Regions from separate parts of the Homo sapiens genome. Here all the other regions are linked to region 5. The links are contacts of gene promoters, found by promoter capture Hi-C in blood cells and fetal thymus (Javierre and others, 2016). All regions are on one chromosome and are shown on one strand. The core of a region is centred on a gene start or on the middle of the fragment in contact, and the rest is flanking DNA. Distances in the headings are between cores, read along the strand shown. Region 1 overlaps SRP54 (signal recognition particle 54). Region 2 overlaps SRP54 (signal recognition particle 54). Region 3 overlaps FAM177A1 (family with sequence similarity 177 member A1). Region 4 overlaps PRORP (protein only RNase P catalytic subunit). Region 5 holds the start of CFL2 (cofilin 2).

Evidence for each region. Contacts are between HindIII fragments. The CHiCAGO score rates a contact against its expected background, and 5 or more counts as called.
Region 1: a fragment that was not itself captured here is called in contact with the fragment with the promoter of CFL2 in region 5 in 5 of 17 cell types (total CD4 T cells, monocytes, naive CD8 T cells and 2 more); the score reaches 5.9 in total CD4 T cells.
Region 2: a fragment that was not itself captured here is called in contact with the fragment with the promoter of CFL2 in region 5 in 1 of 17 cell types (naive CD8 T cells); the score reaches 5.3 in naive CD8 T cells.
Region 3: a fragment that was not itself captured here is called in contact with the fragment with the promoter of CFL2 in region 5 in 7 of 17 cell types (total CD8 T cells, naive CD4 T cells, total CD4 T cells and 4 more); the score reaches 6.8 in total CD8 T cells.
Region 4: a fragment that was not itself captured here is called in contact with the fragment with the promoter of CFL2 in region 5 in 1 of 17 cell types (naive CD8 T cells); the score reaches 5.4 in naive CD8 T cells.

Annotation. Positions count from the first base shown.
Region 1 is chr14:35,022,902-35,025,625 of GRCh38, forward strand. It overlaps SRP54 (signal recognition particle 54), which reads left to right. Exons shown (of 16, transcript NM_003136.4): 14 at 9-179. Among named protein-coding and RNA genes, the nearest start is that of FAM177A1, 22 kb to the right of the region's middle. The HindIII fragment of the contact is 2,251 bases long and covers 192-2,442 here.
Region 2 is chr14:35,000,962-35,003,661 of GRCh38, forward strand. It overlaps SRP54 (signal recognition particle 54), which reads left to right. Exons shown (of 16, transcript NM_003136.4): 4 at 1-59. Among named protein-coding and RNA genes, the nearest start is that of SRP54, 19 kb to the left of the region's middle. The HindIII fragment of the contact is 3,095 bases long and covers 1-2,700 here.
Region 3 is chr14:35,075,211-35,077,910 of GRCh38, forward strand. FAM177A1 (family with sequence similarity 177 member A1) reads left to right here. Exons shown (of 5, transcript NM_173607.5): 3 at 1,940-2,006. Among named protein-coding and RNA genes, the nearest start is that of FAM177A1, 30 kb to the left of the region's middle. The HindIII fragment of the contact is 2,843 bases long and covers 1-2,700 here.
Region 4 is chr14:35,154,624-35,157,323 of GRCh38, forward strand. The region is part of intron 4 of PRORP (protein only RNase P catalytic subunit); the gene reads left to right. All of the region lies in intron 4 of PRORP-PSMA6 (PRORP-PSMA6 readthrough), which reads left to right. Among named protein-coding and RNA genes, the nearest start is that of PRORP, 33 kb to the left of the region's middle. The HindIII fragment of the contact is 4,902 bases long and covers 1-2,700 here.
Region 5 is chr14:34,713,241-34,715,987 of GRCh38, forward strand. It overlaps CFL2 (cofilin 2), which reads right to left and starts at 1,353. Exons shown (of 4, transcript NM_138638.5): 1 at 1,298-1,353; 2 at 14-321. The coding sequence starts at 1,300. RefSeq lists silencers at 1,050-1,109, 1,200-1,789. The HindIII fragment of the contact is 2,283 bases long and covers 840-2,747 here.

The DNA of each region.
Region 1 (2,724 bases), core at 67-2,566, 310 kb after region 5:
GTCTACAGAACTAGACAGTACGGATGGTGCCAAAGTTTTTAGTAAACAACCAGGAAGAATCCAAAGAGTAGCAAGAGGATCGGGTGTATCAACAAGAGATGTTCAAGAACTTTTGACACAATATACCAAGTTTGCACAGATGGTAAAAAAGATGGGAGGTATCAAAGGACTTTTCAAAGGTAAGAAAAATAAGCTTGTTATTAGTTAACAGACGGAAAAGAAAGGAAGTTGAGAAAAAAGAGTGCTGCCAGTATTGGAAAATTCACAGCTGAATTTCATGTTATTTTCAAGTACTTCCAGGATTTATGTGACCTGTGATTTATCTGTTTTCATATTCAAGGTAATATTAATATTTAAAAAAAAACTTTACATCTGTGTAGTGTGGGTAAATGAAAAAAAATTAATAAAGCAATGATTTTCTTTTTGTGAACACATTATATTAAATTTAGATAATATAAGGAAAAAAAAAACACATTACCTTTACTCCCCAGAGAATCCAGTGGATCCTACTGCAAATAACAGTTGCTATAACTAAGTTTTCTTCTGATATATCATAACTGTTTTTCCATGTTGTCAAATATTCTTCAAAACATAATTCTTGGCCAGGCACGATGGCTCATGCCTGTCATCCTAGCACTTTGGGAGGCTGAGGCGGGCGGATCACTTGAGGTCAGGAGTTCAAGACCAGCCTGGCCAGCATGGTGAAACCCTGCCTCTACTTAAAATACAAAAAATATCCGGGTGTCGTGGGGTGTACCTGTTATCCCAGCTACTCGGGAGGCTGAGGCAGGAGAATCACTTGAACCCAGGAGGCGGAGCTTGCAGTGAGCCGAGATTGTACCACTGTACTCCAGCCTGGGCAGCAGAGTGAGACTCCGGTCCCCAAACACACACACACACACACACACACACACACACACACTTCTTCTGAGTAATACTGTTTAAGTTATGCATGTATCTTTGTCTAATGTAGTGCCACTTTTTTGGACAGTAAGGCTGATTCATTCACTTCTATATCAGATCAGTTTTTGTGCAGTTCCATGAGACCAGGGATTTTTGCCTGTTTTGATCAGAAACATAGTAGAAGCTAAAAAAATTTTGTAGTAATATAATTTCCATTATATTTCTTTATTTATATTATTTTGAGACAGAGTCTCTCTCTGTCACCCAGACTGGAGTGCAGTGGCACAATCTCGGCTCACTGCAGCCTCTGCTTCCCAGGCTCAAACAATTCTCCTGCCTCAGCCTCCCGAGTAACTGGGATTAAAGGCATGCACCACTACCGCCTGGCTAATTTTTGTATTTTTAGTAGAGACGGGGTTTCACTATGTTGGCCAGGCTGGTCTTGAACTCCTGACCTCAAATGATGTGCCCGCCTCGGACTCCCAAAGTGCTGGGATTACAGGCTTGAGCCACCACGTCCGGCCTCACTTCCATTTTAATGGTTGAATATTTTCTCAATATGTGTTTTTACATTATTAAGTTTAACATTTCTTTGTACATTTACTGGTTTGAATTTACTTTGTGAATCACCTCTTCATGTTCCCTGTCCAGTTCTTCCATTTTTCCCCCTTATATCTTTGTAATAGCTCCTTAAAATCTTTGGTTTATGTCTTCAAATATTTTCCCCCAGTTTTTCATTTACCTTTTATTTTTATTTATATTTTATAATGAACAGTAGTTGCCCTTTTTAATGTAGCCAGCCTATCTTTTTTTATTTCTTTTATGCTCATAAACAGCTTCCCCTTGTTTATTTTTTCCTTTTTTTTTTTTCTTTACAGAGGTAATCAAGTTAACCTTCTCCATGTTGATACCACAGTTGTCACCATTTTCTTCTTTTTTTGAGACAGAGTCTTGCTCTGTCGCCCAGGCTGGAGTGCACTGGCATGATCTCAGCTCACTGCAACCTCCGCCTCCTGGGTTCAAGCTATTCTCCTGCCTCAGTCTCCCGAGTAGCTGGGATTTCAAGCACGTGCCACCATGCCCAACTAATTTTTGTATTTTTAGTAGAGACTGGGTTTCACCATCTTTACTGGCCAGGCTGGTCTCAAACTCCCAACCTCAAGTGATTCGCCCGCCTTAGCTTCCTAAAATGCTCTGGGATTACAGGCATGAGCCACAACACCTGGCTTCTACTTGTTTTTGTTTTTATTTTGTGTTTGACTTTTTAATCTCAATTGAATTTATTTTGCTGTGTATTATGTATCGTAAAAAGATAAGGTTTTCCAAAGACTTCCAACTGTTCCAGTCCTCTTTTTGATTTTTTTCTATAATGTAAACAACTAATTCAGAGTCTGTGAAAATTTGCCTTGAAACCCATTAAAATGAATTTATTGTTTCCAAAAATATTAATTAGACAAGCTCTGAATATGAACAATACCATTGAATAGCTTCTAAAAGAATGAGTATTTCCAGATGTTTTAAATTACCTTTTGTCTTTGAAGCTTTCCTTATTTTCCTTGCGATATCCTATTTTCTCTTTTGTGACAAAAAAATTAGACAAACATGTTGAAAATTGGTTATAATTCCTACCATCACATGCTATTTCAGATAGTGACTAATAAACACATTACATCACTGTAATGTCTTTCCCATGTAGTCCTGACTGTTCTTGATAGAACAGATTCACCATCCAGATCTTATCTATGCATTGATCCCTCAATAAAGGAATAACCCAAGATGAAGTTGGCAGTGGGTATACACACAGCTATGTCACACCAAACT
Region 2 (2,700 bases), core at 201-2,700, 290 kb after region 5:
CATCTGGTCTTAACAAAAGAAAAATGATTCAGCATGCTGTATTTAAAGAACTTGTGAAGGTAAAAGTATATGAAGATTATGCTGTGATTCTATACTCAGTGGATAAAAAAGCGTTAGCACTACAAATATTTCAGAATTTTTAAATATGTTTTTTATGGAATATTCATCTGTATTAAAATATTAATGAAAGGATTATTGAGTTTTCTTAGGGACCTTTTTTTTTTTTTTTTTGAGAAGGAGTTTCACTCTTGTTGCCCAGGCTGGAGTGCAACCTCCGCCTCCCGGGTTCAAGCAATTCTCCTGCCTCAGCCTCCCGAGTAGCTGGGATTACAGACGTGCACCACCATGCCCGGCTAATTCTGTATTTTTAGTAGAGACGGGGTTTCTCTATGTGGGTCAGGCTGGTCTTGAACTCCTGACCTCAGGCGATCCGCCCGCTTCGGCCTCCCAAAGTGCTGGGATTATAGGTGTGAACCACTGCACCTGGCCAGGACCTATTTTTATTGTAGACTTTACTGAATATACATAATTCTGAGTGCAGATATGAAAGCTAGTACTATTCCTGCAAAAAATGCCAAAGCCAAGATGCGATGAGTGAAATTTCACTACAGATTTGTTGATGGAAGGGCCTAAGTTTTTCCTCGTTCACTATCATGTTTTGCCTAGTGATGGTCCTGCTTTTGTATGGCAAAGTCACATATAGCAAGTATTCTTTTCTACACTGTTCGTTGTGTAAGGAATTCCCTTTGCAAAGACCATGTATCCCAATTCTTGCCTAGATTATGAGCAATTTTGAATTAGTGAAAGTTTTATTTTCAAATAGTAAATATAGCCAGTTGCCCTGCCTCACCTTATTGCTGATCATGCAAATTATGGTGAAAATCTTAGAGCTTAAAAAATATATATGGGCTCAGTTGTAGAAAAAAAAAGAAAGGAGCTGTTAAAAAAATTATTTTAGTCCAGGCATGGTGGCTCATGCCTGTAATCACAGTGCTTTGGGAGGCGGAGGTGGGAGGATTGCTTGAGGCCAGGAGTTTGAGACCAACCAGGGCAACATAGTGAGAACCAGTCTCTATAAAAAAAAAAAAAATTGATAAAAATAGCTGGTGCAGGCCGGGTGCAGTGGCTCACATCTGTAATCCCAGCACTGTGGGAGGCTGAGATGGGTAACCACCTGAGGTCAGGCGTTCGAGACCAGCCTGGCCAACATGGTGTAACCCCATCTCTGCTAAAAATACAAAAATTAGCCGGGCATGGTGGTGCACATCTGTAGTTCCAGCTACTCCGGAGGGTGAGGCAGGAGTATTGCTTGAGCCCAGGAGTTCGGGGGTGCAGTGAGCCGTGATTGTGCCACTGCACTCCCGACTGGGGGAGAGGGTGAGACCCTGTCTTTAAAAAAAAACAAACAAAAAAAATTTTTTAGAGCATTAGATGCCCACTAGTTCTACAATCATTTTTCCCCCACATTGTTTGAATATTTTCTTTTTTTTTTTTTGACTCTCCCTCTGTCACTCAGGCTGAAGTGCAATGGCATGATCTCTGCTCACTGCAACCTCTGCCTGCCAGGTTCAAGCAATTCTCCTGCCTCAGCCTCCCAAGTAGCTGGGATTACAGGTGTGTGCCACCACGCCCAGCTAATTTTTTTTTGTATTTTTAGTTGAGATGGGGTTTCACCATGTTGGCCAGGATGGTCTCTATCTCTTGACCTAGTGATCTGCCTGCCTTAGCCTCCCAAAGTGCTGGGACTACAACCATGAGTCACTGTGCCTGGCCTCCTTTTTTTTTTTTTTTTTTTTTTTTAAGAGACAGTCTGACTCTGTTACCCAGGCTGGAGTGTAGTGGTGCAATCATGGCTCACTGTAGCCTCAACCTCCTGGGCTCAAACAATCCTCCTGCCTCAGTGCCCCCCAAGTAGCTGGGGCTACAGGTACATGCCACCACGCCCAGCTAGTTTTTGCATTTTTTGTAGAGACAAGGTTTTGCCATGTTGCCCTAGCTGGTCTTGAACTCCTGACCTCAAGTGATCCACCTGCCTTGGCCTCCCAAAGTGTTAGGATTACACATGTCAGCCACTTTGCCTGGCCAGAAATTTTTATTGTTAGGGGCTCGTAACTGTAGGCAATTCTGGAGCATCAAGTGCTTTATTAAGAAGCATTTATTGAGTACCTACTTTATTTCAGGAAGTATGCCAAATGCTGCTGATAGCAGAAATAAATGAGACTGGTTCTTATACTCAGATGCTTATGGTCTAGAGGAATGGTGTACAAAGCAAGGTCAAAATTATTTTCATAATACTAAGACATTATTTGACTTTTGTACTATGTTGACATTTGCACTGAAAACAATGGTAGGTAAAACTCCCTGGTATGAATCAAGGCAGTGGCACCAGATGATACTAGTAGTTTCTGGACTCTCTATTTATTTATTTATTTTTGAAGACAGAGTCCCTGTCATTCAAACTAGAGTGCAGTGGCGTGATCAGAGCTCACTGCGGCCTCAAATTCCTGGGCTCGAGCGATCTTCTCTCCTCAGCCTCCAGAGAAGCTAGGACTACAGGCATGCACCACCATGTTTTTTGTTTGTTTGTTTTTTGTTTTTTTGGTTTTTTTGGTTTTTTTTTTTTTTGAGACAGGGTCTTACTCTGTTGCCCAGGCTGGAGTGCAGTGGTGTGATCATGGCTTGCTGCAGCCTCATCCTCCC
Region 3 (2,700 bases), core at 143-2,642, 360 kb after region 5:
AACCAAGATTAACTACGTAGGTGTGCATTGTGGATTGCATTCTGCCAGTGGCCCTGGCTTACCAAATATGCACTGAACTTGTCTTGGGTTCTATGGTCTAGTCCTTTTTTAAGACTTAAAGAAGGGATCCAGTTTCAGCTTTCTACCTATGGCTAGCCAGTTTTCCCAGCACCGTTTATTAAATAGGGAATCCTTTCCCCATTTCTTGTTTTTGTCAAGTTTGCTACAAAAATTAACTCAAGATGGATTAAAGACTTAAATGTTAGACCTAAAACCATAAAAACCCTAGAAGAAAACCTAGGCAATACCATTCAGGACATAGGCATGGTCAAGGACTTCATGACTAAAACACCAAAAGCAATGGCAACAAAAGCCAAAATTGACAAATGGGATCTAATTAAACTAAAGAGCTTCTGCACAGCAAAAGAAGCTACCATCAGAGTGAACAGGCAACCTACAGAATGGGAGAAAATTTTTACAATCTACTAATCTGACAAAGGGCTAATATCCAGAATCTACAATGAACTCAAACAAATTTACAAGAAAAAATCAAACAACCCCATCAAAAAGTGGGCAAAGGATATGAACAGACACTTCAAAAGAAGACATTTATTCAGCCAACAGACACATGAAAAAATGCTCATCATCACTGGCCATCAGAGAAATGCAAATCAAAATCACATACCATCTCACACCAGTTAGAATGGCGATCATTAAAAAGTCAGGAAACAACAGGTGCTGGACAGGATGTGGAGAAATAGGAACACTTTTATACTGTTGGTGGGAGTGTAAACTAGTTCAACCATTGTGGAAGACAGTGTGGCGATTCCTCAAGGATCTAGAACCAGAAATACCATTTGACTCAGCCATCCCATTACTGGGTATATACCCAAAGGATTATAAATCATGTTGCTATAAAGACACATACACATGTATGTTTATTGCGGCACTATTCACAATAGCAAAGACTTGGAACCAACCCAAATGTCCATCAATGATAGACTGGGTTAAGAAAATGTGGCACATATACACCATGGAATCCTATGCAGCCATAAAAAAGGATGAGTTCATGTCCTTTGTAAGGACATGGATGAAGCTGGAAACCATCATTCTGAGGAAACTATTGCAAGGACAGAAAACCAAACACCGCATGTTCTCACTCTTAGGTGGGAATTGAACAATGAGAACACTTGGACACAGGAAGGGGAACATCACACACTGGGGCCTGTTGTGGGGTGGGGGGAGCGGGGAGGGATAGCATTAGGAGATATACCTAATGTAAATGACGAGTTAATGGGTGCAGCACACCAACATGGCACATGTATACATATGTAACAAACCTGCATGTTGTGCACAGGTACCCTAGAACTTAAAGTATAATAATAATAAAAAAAAAGACTTAAAGAAACAAACGAAACTTATCTTGCCGCTTATTTGTCCCTTATTTTCCCACCATTAAAAGCTCATTTGATGTTCCCTTACATATCCTGCTTAATTTCTCTGAACCTTAATTTCCCTGCTATAGCATAAGTATGTCAGATGGCATCCTTAAGTTTCTTTCTATTGACTGAACACCCCCTCTGGTGTTGTGTTTATAAATAGTGGAGACAAAAATGCAGCAAGACAGGAGAAAGGAAAGCTCTGGATTGTCAACTCATAAAATAATCCAGACTGCGATTACCAACTCCATTTCAGCGGCTGCATCTTTTTTTGATTCTTCTATGGGCTTAAGGTGGTGGTAGTTATATGGGTGAATGTAAAATATCTTTGTGGAATTTTAACTCTACAGATTTTAAATTGTTGATTGGATTGCAGTCTCTTTGTAGTACTGCCTATAGAATATTCTCGGTGCCTACCAAGTATTTGACTACTTCATTCTGGCCTAAATATATGGAATGAATTTAGGTATGAATGTTGCTAACATGATTTCTTGTTGCAGACAAAACTTACCTGGGGTCCCTACTTATGGTTTTACATGCTTCGGGCTGCTACATCAACTCTCTCAGGTATTGCTTTTCTGCTTGAATATTGTATAATTGCTGTAACATGCTTCAGCAACAGGAACTTTGCTAAATAGGATGTTTCCAAACTGAAGGAGAAACAATAGGGAGTTAATCACTGTCCTCAAGAGCTAGCTAGCATTGGGAGATAGTAACCTAACTTGTACTTCACATTAAAACATTCTTCAGCTTCCAATATAGTTTATTTTTTGAGGAATGAAAAATGACTATGTTAGTTTAGATATGGTTTTCAAGTTCTTTTTTTTTTTTTTTTTTTTTTTTTGAGACGGAGTCTCGCTCTGTCGCCCAGGCCGGACTGCGGACTGCAGTGGCACAATCTTGGCTCACTGCAAGCTCCGCTTCCCGGGTTCACGCCATTCGCCTGCCTCAGCCTCCCGAGCAGCTGGGACCACAGGCGCCCGCCACCGCGCCCGGCTAATTTTTTGTATTTTTAGTAGAGACGGGGTTTCACCTTGTTGGCCAGGATGGTCTCGATCTCCTGACCTCATGATCCACCCGCCTCGGCCTCCCAAAGTGCTGGGACCACAGGCGTGAGCCACCGCGCCCGGCCTCAAGTTCTTAAACCCTTTCTCTTAACAGCTATTTTGCTGCTTTGTCATTTGGTTTCCAATTGATAACATTCTCAATCTGTCTCACTGCTTATTCTAAAGCCTGTATTATAGTTAATTTATATTTCTAT
Region 4 (2,700 bases), core at 152-2,651, 440 kb after region 5:
CCTCAAGGGTACAATTACCAAATACCATCTGTGGGAAACTGCAAGACAACCCAGTTTCTTCCAATAAATGAATTGCCAAAAAAAAAAAAAAGAGATGGAGCAATGATCTATAGATAAAAGCAATTTGAGATAAAGCAACCATTTGCAGTGTATGGATCATATTGGGCCCTTAGTTCCTGATTTGAACAATCAGAGGAATCTGAACACCAGTTATTGGAGTTATTAAGACATTTTTGTTGATTTTTATTTAGGGTTAATAATGCTAGTGAGTTAAAACTCTTTTTTTTTTGAGGCAGGGTCTCAATCTGTTACCCAGGCTGGAGTGCAGTGGCACAATCACAGCTCACCACAGCCTCAACCTCCCGGGCTCAGGTGATCATCCCACCTCAGCCTCCTGAGTAGCTAGGACTACAGGTGCCTGCCACCACATCAGCTAAGTTTTGTACTTTTTGTAGAGAGGGGGTTTCACCATGTTGCCCAGGCTGGTCTCGAACTCGTGGGCTCAAGTGATTTCCCATTTTGGCCTCCCAAAGTGCTGGGATTACAGGCGTGAGCCACCATGCCTGACCCAAACTCTTTAGATTCAGAGCTAAACACTGAAATATTTATGGATTAAATGATGTGATGTCTGAGATATGCTTCAAAAATAACTGGGAAATAGGGGATGGAATAGATGGAGTTATATATGAAACAAGATTGGTCATGAGATGATAAAGCTAGTTTATGGGTTCATGGGGATTTATTATACTATTCTGTCTACTTTTATATATGTTTAAGATTTTCATCTTGAAAATCTTTTTTTATAAGCTAACAAAGGGCCAGCTGTGGTGGCTCACAACTGTAATCCCAGCACTTCGGGAAGCTGAGGTGGGAGGATTGCTTGAGCCCAGGAGTTTAAGACAAGCCTGGGCAACATAGCGAGACCTGGTGTCTATTTAAAAAAAAAAAAAAAAAAAAAAGCTGACAAATACACATATGCTTTCAGGATAGAAGTTATGAAAAGGGAGATTATAAAACAGTGCTTTCTTAGTGATTTTCATGCAGAAGCAACATCTTCCTAATCTTCCTATAGTAAAGATTTCCTCAAGTAAACATATTATATATTCATTATAATATAAATAGTATATATTCATTAGAAAGGATATAAACAGTTCAGAAATACCACTATAGAGAATGAAAGTCCCCTTCTTAAAGCAAATTATACTTTTTAAATGCTGAAAATTGTCATGTCATTTGCACGTTTCTTTTTCCATTTTTGAAACGCACAAGATAAAATTTCTTAATAGAGTAGAACAACTAATTTAGATTCAGAGTCAATTCTATAAAGGTTTCCTACTGTACTGCATTGTTTTTGCTTTGCAAAGAGGTTATTAACATTTTTTTTCTGGGTTAGGGGAGGAGTTTGAAAAAATCCTGTACAAGTTAATCCATTGTGTGGTAAAAGCTATAGCTGAAGAGGCAATGTGGAATACTCCAGTGTGCACAACCCCTGCTTTTATCATAGGTGGCAACTGCAGATTAATTCTGGTGTGGTTAGGCATTTCACAAAGGGAAATATGAACCTGAGAGCCTATGTCCCCAACAGTGCTAACTGGGAGATGTGGAGTGTGGGGATTTCCACTCTTTGTTAATAAGATCTCCGGCACATTTCCTCTTTGCTTTTGCATTTTCCTTGGTTATGAAGCAGCTGCAGAGAAGTAAAATGTGATTTCCTGTGTTTAAAAGAGTGCTGGCTTTTCTTTCAGAGACTTAAAATTGGAAGGGTGGAATGCATATGGATTGAGCTACCTACAGGGCTAATTTAAACATAGGTGTTTTATTTTTGTTTTTGTTTTTGTTTTTGTAATGAGTTCACTGCATTTGTGCCAGGAATATTTTTGTTCAGATGTTTTGAATTAGCAGATAACTCAGGTTGTCTCAAAAGCAGGCTTCTCTCTAGGCTGATCACTGCTTTAACAGTGTGATTCTTTGCAAGCTGACTGAAAAACCACTAATGGCAAAAGTGCATTCTGTCATATCAATAAAAATACTGTAGTTCCTTTGCAGATTCATGCAGTATAAATGCTTATCTTGATTATTTAACCTGTAAAATTCTCCAAAATGAGAAAAATAGGCAGAGGGTGTTTTTCAAGAAAATATGATAAGGCCATATCAAGGTACAGTGTCCCCAGATACAATGTCAGTGGGAAATGAAAAGAACTTATTCGCAGAGTAGATGCTTAGGAATCATTAGACTTAGGTGAAAGTTCCTATCATAAATTAATACCTTTTTTTGTAGTCGTTGTCAATATTTCTTGCCCTAATAATGGTAGTTCATTTTTTTCTTTTTTCTTTTCTTTTTTTTTTTTTTGAGACGGAATCTTGCTCTGTCGCCCAGGCGGGAGTGCAGTGGCTCCATCTCGGCTCACTGCAAGCTCCGTCTCCTGGGTTCACGCCATTCTCCTGCCTCAGCCTACCAAATAGCTGGGACTACAGGCGCCCGCCACCACGCCCAGCTAATTTTTTTTATTTTTAGTAGAGATGGGGTTTCACTATGTTAGCCAGGATAGTCTCAATCTCCTGACCTCGTGATCCTCCCGCCTCGGCCTCTCAAAGTGCTGGGATTACAGGCGTGAGCCACCGCGCCCGGACGTTCATTTTTTTCAAAATATACTTAGGAGCCTATCCTAAACATGGGCCAGACCTGTGGATATTTTTGGA
Region 5 (2,747 bases), core at 103-2,602:
TGTTTTTACACACCAGAATATAAATACTAGGTCTTCTTTCTTAGACTCTTTTGTTTCGTATGTGGCATCGTACAAAGCATATCGGCAATCATTCAGAGGTAGCAACTTCACAAAAGATGTGTAGGGGTCCTCTACAGTATCACCAATGTCACCCACCAAGATCTGCTTTGCTTCCTCTACAATTATTTGTCTTTTGTCATCGCTTAAACAGAAGAGAACTGCTTTCTTTCTCTTTTTGATCTCCTCTTGTGTAGAAGATTTCCTTACTTTCATATCATTAAAAACTTTGATGACTTCATCATTCACTGTAACTCCAGAAGCCTGAAAATAAACACAGAACAGTAATTCAGAACACGTATTTTGGTTTTAACCAAAATTACTGTTTGCCTAGAGAAGACTCACTTTAGTCTGGACATCAAAAATTGCACCGTACCATGTAAGTCGTCCAATCAGATTTGTCACATTTTAAGAATCAGTAGACGATACAGCGAAGGAGTCTAACTCATCCTGCCCATTCATCCTTCTTAAAGGGGTTTGGACGTGGAAGCGAAAGGGACAAATACAAGTTGTCCCATCCCTGAAATGTTTCCTATTTCACTGGGTGATGTCAGAGCTTCAGGAGTGGCAGCAAAAATACCTTCTGTATTGTGTCAACTCGGCTGGCCTTAAAAAAACACTTTTGGATTTCAGTTAATGCTTCTACTATTTTTTTCTTTAAAGTCATCCTAGCCACTGACGTTTCCTCATAAGGAAAGAGAATCAAGTGTAAACTCCAAACCGCCCACGGCCCACACACAGCTCACATGCAGACACTCCAAAACTAACTGATCGAGTGTAAAAGCTTTTACGGCGAGAAAGCATTTTAAAAAGTGTTTTCCCTCTTCCTTAATCTCCCCGTAAGGGTTTTATTACAGGCCGTCCAGACCCTGACCCACACAGCGTTCGCAGCACGTACCAATTTTAAAGCCTCGCGTGTTAAGTAAAATTAGGAAGCGAAGGGCAAAGGCGGCGCGAGCGGCTGCAGTCCGCAGACCCTCTCGCGCCCCCGCCCGCCCGGCCCCGACCCCCAACCTGCGCCGACGCCCGGGCCCTCCCCGCCCCCCAAAATCCAAAGAGCAGCAGGGCAGGGCCTGACGGCCGGAGGGCAGGCCGGTCGGCTGGAGAGCAGCGGAGCCGCAGAGCAGAAGCGCCCACCTTGGAGGCCAAAATCAGGTTAAAATGGCGGCCTCACTCCCGGGGCCGTGCGGGGGGCTTTTCTCGCCTCGCCGCGGCCTCCCGGCCAGCGCGCTCGTCTTACCATAGTGCCCTCGGCTGTGGCTGCGGCGGCAGCTCGGGCTTCGGCTCTGTGGCACTGGGAGGAGAAGGAGGGGCGGGCGAGCGGGTGGGCAGCGGAGAGTGCGGGGCACGCCGGGAGCTGCAGCCCGAGGGAGGTGGCGGGGCTCGGCGGGCCGCAGGCAGCGGGCGGGGCGGTCACGTGGGCACGCCTGGTCCCCAGCCGGCGCCACCCGCTCCCAGGCCGGCCCTTCTGTCTCGCGGCCCCGGCTCCCCGGCTGTCCGCGTCCTCGGCCTGACCTCAGAGCGCGAGCCCTGCAGGCCGGGGGGGGCGACGCGGTGGTAGCGGAGCCCGGGAGCCTGGCAGAGCCGCCTCCAGCCCCCGAGCATCACCCGTCAAGCCGGTGGGAGAGAGTGCTGGGCTCCCAGAGGGGCGTTTCCACCGCCTCCGTAGGGCCCTGCGCCAGGGGTGGGTGCGTGTGAGGGGAACTCCTGCGAAGGTGTCTTTCCTTATTTACCTGTGGTTTTCCCGAAAGAGGCTGGATTTCGACATTTTGAGTCTTTTTGGAAAACCCCCAGTTGTTTAGAGATAAATGAGAATAAATACTACACGAGATTGCTCCAGTTGATAGTACTTAGCAAAAACAAAATGATACGCAGTGTTGGTAAATCACTTTTCAAAACTCTGGTTGAAATAATAATTATGATTAAAAAATTACGTGGTAGCATTCCTTAGTAATATCCTTTTACATTTTAGACTTCATAGGAAATGGATTGTACTCTCTCTTAGAGATTTCATGAAGCTCCAGCTATGACAGCTGATATCAAATAAGCCGACGCAGCCTCTTCTAGCAAAGCCCATATAACTGCGCCAAGGCAGTTTCTCTTTTTTTAATCTTAACTCCTCCATACCTCAGGGTTCTTCATGTGTAAAACAAACTGTTATTAAATTATCGTTAAGGCCCTTTCCAGCTTTAGATTTCAGTTTCTGAGTATATCAATGTTCAGTAGGAAATGGTGTGTTTTTGGTGGTCTCAGGATTGAGGTTAGGCAGGAAAGTCATGAGATGGTGTTTGCCCTAGATTGCGTGATAAGTTCTTTCAGCCCAAATTTACTGTATTTTAAATGGAACATGCTAGGCATTGAAACAGACCTATTTTTCTGTCTATATCTTGGGTTTGTTTTCTTAATTGGAAGATAGACTTCGTTTAGAGACAAAAATTGAGAAGGGATTTCCCAATGTCTAAGCATGAATCCCAAGCAAGTGGATAATACTTTATATCTAGCTGGTACATTACAATTTATGGAACCTTTCACTTTATCTGTTGAACTTCCAAGAAGTCATGGAGAATGTCTCTCCAGAGCTCTGATCATCTGCTATGTGTAGGTATTAGCAAATTCCTGTTCGCTTCATCTTGCGGTTACCTTCCCTTCCCAACCTCAGAGATTTGCAGCAGCCCCAGCAGAGACCAGGT